Regions from separate parts of the Homo sapiens genome. Here regions 1 and 3 are each linked to region 2. The links are contacts of gene promoters, found by promoter capture Hi-C in human tissues and cell types (Jung and others, 2019). All regions are on one chromosome and are shown on one strand. The core of a region is centred on a gene start or on the middle of the fragment in contact, and the rest is flanking DNA. Distances in the headings are between cores, read along the strand shown.

What was found. Contacts are between HindIII fragments. The study calls those that stand out against the background at their distance.
Region 1: a contact is called between a fragment that was not itself captured here and the fragment with the promoter of NECAB1 in region 2, in 3 of the 25 tissues and cell types used here (bladder, dorsolateral prefrontal cortex and hippocampus).
Region 3: a fragment that was not itself captured here is called in contact with the fragment with the promoter of NECAB1 in region 2 in 2 of the 25 tissues and cell types used here (dorsolateral prefrontal cortex and hippocampus).

Annotation. Positions count from the first base shown.
Region 1 is chr8:90,874,696-90,877,855 of GRCh38, forward strand. All of the region lies in intron 4 of NECAB1 (N-terminal EF-hand calcium binding protein 1), which reads left to right. All of the region lies in intron 2 of LOC105375634 (a long non-coding RNA gene), which reads right to left. Among named protein-coding and RNA genes, the nearest start is that of NECAB1, 85 kb to the left of the region's middle. The HindIII fragment of the contact is 3,506 bases long and covers 1-3,160 here.
Region 2 is chr8:90,790,158-90,793,329 of GRCh38, forward strand. NECAB1 (N-terminal EF-hand calcium binding protein 1) reads left to right here and starts at 1,618. Exons shown (of 13, transcript NM_022351.5): 1 at 1,618-1,828. The coding sequence starts at 1,730. It overlaps LOC105375633 (a long non-coding RNA gene), which reads right to left and starts at 2,011. Exons shown (of 4, transcript XR_928389.4): 1 at 1,281-2,011. The HindIII fragment of the contact is 16,269 bases long and covers 1-3,172 here.
Region 3 is chr8:90,894,261-90,897,532 of GRCh38, forward strand. The region is part of intron 5 of NECAB1 (N-terminal EF-hand calcium binding protein 1); the gene reads left to right. All of the region lies in intron 1 of LOC105375634 (a long non-coding RNA gene), which reads right to left. Among named protein-coding and RNA genes, the nearest start is that of C8orf88, 89 kb to the right of the region's middle. The HindIII fragment of the contact is 3,887 bases long and covers 1-3,272 here.

The sequences.
Region 1 (3,160 bases), core at 286-2,785, 84 kb after region 2:
TCAATCAAGTTCCTTTTAATGGATTTTCAATTTGAATCCAACCTTCCATGGGAAAAACAGGATTGAAATAAATATTCTCATATACATTATTCTCACACTCACGTTCAAGTAATTCTGAATTCTGAATGGTAGATTCCCAAACATGTAATTCCTCAATCAAGGCTTCTCTAAGGTGCACACCCACCAGCAGTTTATAGAAGTGCCAAAATTATCCACTCTTCACATACAATTGTGAAGGCCTTCCTAAATGCATTTTTTTTTTGCCGTATCTTATCACGATCAGTCAATACATAACTCAGTTTTAATTAGGCAATTGTGTTTGAACTCTGGCATTAAAGCTTTGATTTTGTATTTCTACCATAATTAGCTATAATCTAAAGCTTCAGGAGTATAATTACTACCTTTCCTGGCCCTACCCTGTTTATGACTGTTTTCATAACCTTACTCATTTTTACTGAACCGTTTTGCAGATCTTGAAGTTGGTAGTTAAGAATAGATAGTTGAGGCCGGGCGCGGTGGCTCACGCCTGTAATCCCAGCACTTTGGGAGGCCGAGGCGGGTGGATCATGAGGTCAGGAGATCGAGACCATCCTGGCTAACAAGGTGAAACCCCGTCTCTACTAAAAATACAAAAAATTAGCCGGGCGCGGTGGCGGGCGCCTGTAGTCCCAGCTACTCGGGAGGCTGAGACAGGAGAATGGTGTGAACCCGGGAAGCGGAGCTTGCAGTGAGCCGAGATTGCGCCACTGCAGTCCGCAGTCCGGCCTGGGCGACAGAGCGAGACTCCGTCTCAAAAAAAAAAAAAAAAAAAAAAAAAAAAGAATAGGTAGTTGAAATATTTACAGATGAGCGAAGAATAATTGCAATGAATGTGCTTGATCTGAAAGCCTTTCTGTAAGAAAGCTTTGTGAGGAAGGTTGAATATATTTAATAGTGTAATTTCTCATCTAGTCGGGTGTTATCTACAAAATATTAAACTATTTTAAAAGTTATATGAAGTCTATAAATAAGATGGATAAAAACTGAGGGTACGGGGGCCGGGCGCGGTGGCTCACGCCTGTAATCCCAGCACTTTGGGAGGCTGAGGCGGGTGGATCACGAGATCAGGAGATCAAGACCACGGTGAAACCCCATCTCTACTAAAAATACAAAAAAAAAAAAAAAAATTACCGGGCGTGGTGGCAGGCGCCTGTAGTCCCAGCTACTCTGGAGGCTGAGGCAGGAGAATGGCGTGAACCCGGGAGGCGGAGCTTGCAGTGAGCTGAGATCAGGCCACTGCACTCCAGCCTGGGCGACAGAGCAAGACTCTGTCTCAAAAAATAATAATAATAAATAAAGTAAAGTAAAATAAAATAACTGAGCGTACGGGAAACTCCAGAATAAAAGCTTATTCCCTTCATACCCAAGGTTCCTTTCGGTAGCTGTGCACTAAGCACCCAGGCTGCAGAGATTGGCAGAGCCTGGACAGTGCTCAGAGACCTGTGCCAGCAAGTCTGAGTGCTAGGAAATCAGAAGGCTCTATGCCCTCCTCCAGACTGCTGTGTCCTCCTCCAGTGGCACATGTCACTGATGATTGAGATGTAAGAGAGTTTGCGTGTCGCTTATCTGCATCCCCTCAAAATAGCCCACATTTCTAGATCTGACTGACCTCCCTATTCAGAACATGCGGGTTTTAACACTCTCTCTCATCTCAATTACTTTCTTTTCTACCTAGTCTACTACTTGAGAAAGTCTAACTGCTTGAGAAGTTTAGATGAGAGTCATCTAAACTCATGAGAATACTTTGTAAGACCAGTTTCCACTGAGACTTTTGTGGCAGCTGTGGGTCCTTTGCTTCTGACAGAATTATTAAGCTGACCTGAAAACTCAACAACTTGAAAGACTAAGGTGCAGGATAGAAAAACAGAACAAAACTGTAGTTTGGTAATGCAACACCACTGATTAAGTACAGAAAGGCAGGTAGAAACTAATTTTTTGTTAGCATTTTAGTAGAGAAGATGGCACACTGGATATCCATGAGAATATAGCCTGCTTCCTGACAGATAACAGGCTTACTACATCTGCTTATAAACTGTGCTCTACTTTTTCATCATACCTAATATTCAGACTCTACTTTTCAATGATACTTCATTTAAACTGATGAGAATTGGTTTTCACACATTTCCATAAGTGCAATATGACTCTGTTTTGCTCAAGTTCATGAAACCCACATACAGGTTTCAACAAAATAGGTCTTTTCTTCAGGAAGTTCTTCTAGTTACCAAAGGAAAGCATTTTAAGGAATCAATATTTGTTCCAAGTCATTCTTTCTAATGCCATGACTTAAGGACAATATACATTTGCCCTACTCACACTGGTATTGTGATTCAAATGAGAAACATCAGTCACAAACATGAGAAACTTGGAATAAAACTTTAGTCCAAGCTCAGCCACTTCCAAATATGTCACTGTCCTTCCCTCCTGCCTACCACATCTTGGAGTTTGCAGATCTGCTGAAATTCTGGACTCCACCGCTCATTCCACTTCAAAGCTTTGGCATGGCTCATAGTCCTAGTTGTGTGATGAAATCCCTCCTGGCAGTTGATACCTCCCTTCTCTCTTGATGGTGTCACCAACATTCCCAAATCATCCTTAGTGCATCCCTTCCTTTTCTGATAGGAGAATTTGAGGATGTCACTCTCCTTTCCATGGCTTCCCATTGCCCATAGTGGTCTCGAATTTACTCTGCATCATAATCTCCTAGGGAACCTCGCCCTCAACCCAAAGATTGTGATTTACTAGATGAGACCTTCTCAGTTATCTTCATGTCTAACAAGTACCCTAGAGTAGTGTTTCTCAAACTTAAATAAGCCTACAAATCACCTGGGGGTCTTATTAAAATGCAGAATGTGATTCAACAGGACTGGAAGTGGGCCTGAGACACTGAGTTCTAACAAGCTCCTAGGTGAAACTAATGCTGCTGGTCCACAAAACAAACTTTGGACAGTGAAGTACTAGAGGATTCTGATGCAGGTGGTCAAAAACACTTACCTAGACTTGAGGATCAAAGAGCATCTGGCAAGGACTGTTTCCAACACATACAGCTTTATCTCCCAACACTGACTTTTAGGATTTGTTTCCTTGCTGCCTCCCATTCTCAAATATGTTCCAGCCCTGTTCT
Region 2 (3,172 bases), core at 368-2,867:
TACAAAGGAGCAGTGGGACTTGGGTGAAGTGAACAAGACACCTAGGGTGCAAAATTTAAGAAAATCATTCTCAGGATCATGCAAGCACAGGATAGAGATTGAGAGCAAGTGCCTCCTTACATTCTGTGCTCAAGTGGCCCCACTTGCCACACCCTAGTCCTGAGCCTACTACATAGCAACTGTGTATGAATCATTAGGGTGAGGGGGACTTGGATTTCTGGACTAGACAGTACTTTAGTATTGGGATTTGGAAAGCCCAGGTAGGATCTGGGATTCTGTATGTTTATAGGAATCCCCAGTGGACTACTTCCAGCTTCCACGTGCTTTCCTGGTGCCATGCTTTGCTTACGCTGTTCCTTCTGCCTGGAAGTGTTTTCCTTCTATTTCTATCAAGCATGGAGTATCCACTGATTTTTAAGGTCCATTTCATATACCGCTTCTTTCATCAAGCTTTTATTGGTCCCCCCAGCCAGAGTGTAACCTGTCTCTCCTGAGAAACCCCTAGCATGTTTTACATGCCTTTAAGACACTCACATGTTGATCAGCATTTTGGTTGTGTGTGGGCCTGTCTTATAGGAAGAATATGTTTACTTTTCTCCAAAGGCCACAAAATGGAGATCTGGATCCTCCTCACCCGTTCTCACTGGTAGAGGCAGAGTCTTGTTTAGACAAGGTTCCCTCTTTTTTGCCTTATCTCGCTCCCAGATAGCTCAAGTTTGTAACCAACACATACACATTTTAGATGCCCAATAAACTGGATCTCTCTCCTGATGAAAGGTGTGGTCAGTTTCCTATTTTTACAGCCTTCGCAGAAGCCGTCAAATATTGAATAATTACCCTGGTTTAAATGCTTAAACACAGATAAGGACTTCGTCTTGTGACTTTGGGAAACTTCATATTTGAACATTACCTAACAATCCTTGCCCCATAGCAAACGTTTCGAAGCCTACTCTAGGCAGAGTTCATAGCACCGCCTTTGTCAGCAGCACTGCCATAGGTAAGCCTCAGAACCCTCTGGGGTGAGACCGGTGTAACCATTTTACTGATGAGGAAAAGTGAGGCTTACAGGTTAAGTCCTTCGAGCGCAAGATAACACCGAATGGCTTAATCCCTACACCAAACCAGCTGCTCCTCGATTGCTGGTATTCGTGAACCCTGCCCCCGCCTTTGGGGAAGGTCGGGCAGACAGGCCACTGGGACCAAAAGCAGAGTAGGTAGAACCTCTCTGAGTTCCTCCCTATTTATGGCATCCACTCAGGTGAGGCTGGGGGCGTCCTTACCTTGCGCTTTGGCTGCTCAGGACAAACGCCCTGCCATTCGTCCCTTCTCTCTGTCCGGACGCCCTCCTCCATCCCTGCACTTGGGGCCGTCGTGGGGCTGGTAGGGGTCCCCAGGCTATCTCCAGCCGTGGCCGATGGCCGTGCCGGGGGCAGAGCCCGCTCCCCTCCGCGCGTTGCTACGTGCGGGGATGACATGGATCCAGACGCCGTCAACTACGGGAAGGAGGAGGCGAGAGTTGGAGCGCGTGGGAGCGCAGAGGCCGGAGGAGGGAGGGGGGGACACCGAGCGCGGAGAGCGCGGAGAGCGCGGAGGGAGGCGCGCGCGGGAGCGAACACCCTCCCGGATCCAGAGCCCGGCGGCGGCGAAGCAGCAGCTGCGGCCGCGCCCTTGCCAGAGCCGGTGCGTCCGCCTAGCCCCGCTCCGCCTGAGGCCGTCAGGGCTCCCGAGGATGGAAGATTCCCAGGAGACATCGCCGTCCTCCAACAACTCCTCGGAGGAGCTCAGCTCTGCTCTGCACCTGTCCAAGGGCATGTCGATCTTCCTCGACGTAAGTACAGATGGTGGGAGCTGGGCGGTTGCTTCCCAGCACCTTTCTTTTCCCCGAAAGGAAGGGGTTCGGCTCAGGTGCTGACCAGCCAATGCTTTGTCCCCAGAACACAGGCGAGAACTACCGATGCAAATGCAGGAGGAACGACTGTCCCTTAACTTGCAGCTAGGGCTGTCCCAGACCTGCAGCTTGTGGCTTAACACCCTTAAGAAAACTGCAAAAGTTAGATTTTCCAACAGGCTGGGTTTCGTAGAGACACTATTGCAAATACAACAGACAACATTTGAGTGCATAGGACATTTTAAAGAGGCACAAGGTGTGGGGGGTGAGGTGGGGACAGTGTCCCAACTCATCTCTCTAACGCGCCCTATTCGCAGCCTTCACACTCGTGGATGCTCTCAAGCAACCCAGCCAGGGAAGCAGCAGCGATTGAGATGCCCTCGTTATCCTCCCCCAGACCCCCTCGGAAAACAATTACTTTGAGCATATTTGTTTTTCTTTTTACAGCGGTGGGAAATATCATTTTCATAATGATTCTTTTTGTCACTGCCACCTCTTCTATTTTCCCTTTTTCTTCCCTGATATTCTCCTTCTCTCCAAGTTCTAATTACTACTGTCACCTCCATGAATTCTAGCTTTTGACTATTTTCCCTTTGGTCCAATTTCTCACTTCGGTATCGACTGCCTGCCTTCATTACTCTGATCTGATTACATCCTTTCTTTTCCTTCTGTGCTGTTTCTTTTTCCCGTATGGTGTGGTTTCTATCTTTACAGCACTTTTATTTCTTATTTATTTCTCAATTTTGTTTTCCTCTCCTGCCTGCTGTTTCTGTTTTCTCTATTTTTCCGTCTGTTGCCTATCTCTTCTCTCTGCTTTGGGGTTTCTCTCAGCTGCTTGCCGGGCTCCAGGCTCTCCCAGCCCCTCAGTTGTCACATTCATGCTGTTGCCGGAGGTCGTGTCTATCTCAGTGGGGACAATTCTGTCTGCTTCTTGTTTAGGCATGATAGAAAATGTCAAAGGACATGGAGGAGTGCTACGTGCTCTGTCCTTTACCCTTCTCTGAGTTATCTTTTCTTATTAAAGTCAAAATGAGTGGGAGATGGGCCAGAAGCCAGATACATTTGTTTGTGGAGAGATGAAAATATGAGGAAATCAATTAGTATCATAATGGTGAGGCAGAGATAAAGAGGATAGGAGGATGTGAGGCGCTCTCCCAAGTTTATTTTGAATGGATTGGCTAGAATTCTTTTTAATTCTAGGGAAAGAAACTCCTATCAATAATTCAAACTGTTGTAAGGCAAATGATAGAAGTGAGGTTCAACTGTGTGTACTGGCAGCCTTCA
Region 3 (3,272 bases), core at 178-2,677, 100 kb after region 2:
ATACATGATATTAGAAGAATAAAACTATTTTCACTTCCTTGTTAATTCTGCCTTTGAGTTCTGCATAGGTCATTTATATACATTAAAATATGGAAAACTACCTCTCACTCCCCAAACTATACAAATCAGAATATGTGGGATAAATGGAGAGATGTCTCCAGAAATAACAATTTCATACTTAGGAAAAACTTGATATGATTCCTAGCTCTGCTACTTGCTAGCATATGCCCAAGTTAATCTTTTTGCCTTCATTTCTTTCATTGTCAGATGTTGGGAGGATAAAATGATATAATGCATGTAGGGGGTCTAGTACTGCAAGTGGCCCATAATAGGCACAATATAGGCATAATAGTCATGGGACTAGTTATCTTTCTACTTCCAAGGTCATTCTCAAGTTTCATACTTTGTTATTGGAAACAATTGCTAAACATGTGGCTTGGTGCTTTATATGGATATGATGGATTCTTTCTTACAACAACAACCAAAATATTTTATTTCTATAAGGTAGAGGGGAGAATTCAACAGAGCAGCTAACTAATAATCTAAGTAAAAATTTGGAATGTTGACCCTTCAGAGAAAATTTTAACCTTAAGTCAGAATTTTACATGCTGATTTTTTTAGATAAACAGATAATAAGTGTAAGTGCTTCATGAGACTTCCCTTCATTTTAAGGATATACATTTCAGCTGATCTATGACAACCAAATCAATAGTTTAATGAAGCACAGGGGCTTGTTTCTGGGAGAACTTCAGTCTGGTGAATGCATAGAGATGCATGTATTTCCCTGAGTGATTGACTAAGCTGCTGCTTATGGGAACAGACACATATGATTGCATAGAGGCACAAATGTCTGTTAAGAAAATTATCAAAAGTAAACAGAAATTAATTCATAAAAATATAAAGGAACAACTAAAAGGGAAGCACAGCACCTAGTCAGCCATCTCCTTGTTAATATGATGAAAACAGATCATCTGCAGTGACAGAACATATACTCCTACAACACTCTTGGAAGCACAAAGGAGGTATGTGAGACCTAGCTACCAAAACTATAAATAACTCCAGGAGCAGAACTCAGTGTCTCTGAATCCCAGAGAAAGAAAACAGAAAAAGTAGTCTCAACACTGAGGAAGCATAGGAATCTTTTGAAAAGCAAAAAAGAAACAAACCAAAGGCATGTATGTACAGAGCAGGTGCCACCTCAAATCCAGTTTAATAGACACAAAAAGCACCTACTGTGTTCAGAGTGTTGCCATGTGCTAGTAATCAAAAGGAATATAATAGGAAACAAAAATTAGCCTTTGCTCTCCAATCAAATAATATAATAACAGCATTTTCTACTGTCTTGATCATTTTGTTGCAGGTTTATTTTTCAGCAGATAGAAAAAGTGATTATGTATTTGATAAAGAGAAACAGATTAGGAAATTCTGTGAAGCCCCCTTCCTTGCCCCATGAAGTTAAATGAAAATTAGTCAGATTTGTGGCCTCTTCAAAGAGAGGAGTGCTGAGTGGAACTGGCCTGTGGCCATAGAGGAAGTATTCCATAGAGAAGTATTCTGTACAATAGATCTGTGGCAGTAGCTGAAAGGGACTGTTTTCCTTCCTTTAATTGTAACTTTCTACTCCCTTTTATGTTTTCTCATGTAAATCAGAGGCACAATTAAAGCTCAACGAGCTGATGTCAGTAGGAGAATAATTTTTTCAAGTTACTCATTTTAGACCAAGTTTTGTGCAAAGTCTGTATTTTATGCAGCCTAAGAGACATTCTGCAGATGAGTCTTAAGAATTTACCTCACACCCGTAATAGGTATACTTATTCTTGTCGGGTGCTGTGTCATACCATGCATCCGTAAGTCGATGCAGAGGTTCATAAAAACGGCACTTACTAAAACCTCCCTTAGCTATCCTCCACCTTATCCAGAGAAGCTTCTTCTTTTGGAAAATCAAGCAAAACAACTAAGCTAAGACATGTTTAAAAAGTTTGAAAAGAAAGCTGTAAGGAAATACAAGAGGAAGAGTTGTTAGGTATGAGTTCTAAATTTCTTTTCAAAGAATTAATATGTCGGCCGGGCGAGGTGGTTCACGCCTGTAATCCCAGCACTTTGGGAGGCCGAGGCAGGCGGATCACAAGGTCAGGAGATCGAGACCATCCTGGCTAACATGGTGAAACCCCGTCTCTACTAAAAATACAAAAAAATTAGCCGGGCGTGGTGGCGGGTGCCTGTAGTCCCAGCTACTCAGGAGGCTGAGGCAGAAGAATGGCGGGAACCCGGGAGGCGGAGCTTGCAGTGAACCGAGATCGTGCCACTGCACTCCAGCCTGGGCGACAGAGCGAGACTCCGTCTCAAAAAAAAACAAAAACAAAAACAAAAACAAAAAAAACAAACAAACTAATACGTCAGTATGTTCAATTCTCTGCCTTCTACTTTTAAACTTAACTTCCTCGTAAAGCAATCTTTTTCGATTATCTACTCCACCCTGACTCATCCTGATTACCTACTCCACCCTGACTCATTCCGATTACCTACTCCACTCTAACTCATTCGGATCACCTGCTCCACCCTAACTCATTCTGATTACCTGCTACCTGCTCTGCCCTGACTCCCGCCAAAGCACTCACCACTTCATTCTCTTTAAATTAGCCAATTAGAATTAGTTTAGCCTGTGAGGTCTAACCCTAGCCAATAGGGGAACGACACAGCAGCAGGGGTGACGTGCGTCAGGGATAAGAACCCCTTGCCCTCCCTTCTCCAAGTGTGCACTCCATTGTTCCTTCTATATAGAAGTACCTTGCTTTGCTGAGAAAAAGAAAATTTAAAAAAAATAATTAAAAAAAAGAATTTAGCAGGTAGAAAGCAGCAATAAAATTTTCTTCTTCAATTACAAGCCAAATTATTGGCAACTCTTCCTCTTCGGTTCCCACAATCCTTAAGAGGATCCTTTGAGGGGCACAGATTTACTATAGGTCCACCACTTATCTGCGATTCCAAAATCCAAAAGCTTCTGAAAATGGAATGTTTTGGTTTTGTTGTTGTTGTTTGGTAAACTTAGCACCAAAGTCCATTTGGTAGCAAAATCTATTTTAATATTAAGAATTTTGCTGCAAAACTACCAATATGGTCATTACAGGGTACTGCTCTAGACCCTGCTGTGGGTATTATATAATTACATGACATATGCTAGGTGTTACCTCTCTAGACCCTGAAAAATTCTGAACTTTGAAATGTATCTGGCTCAATGGTTTCAATAAAAAATTAAGATGGCTATGTCATTA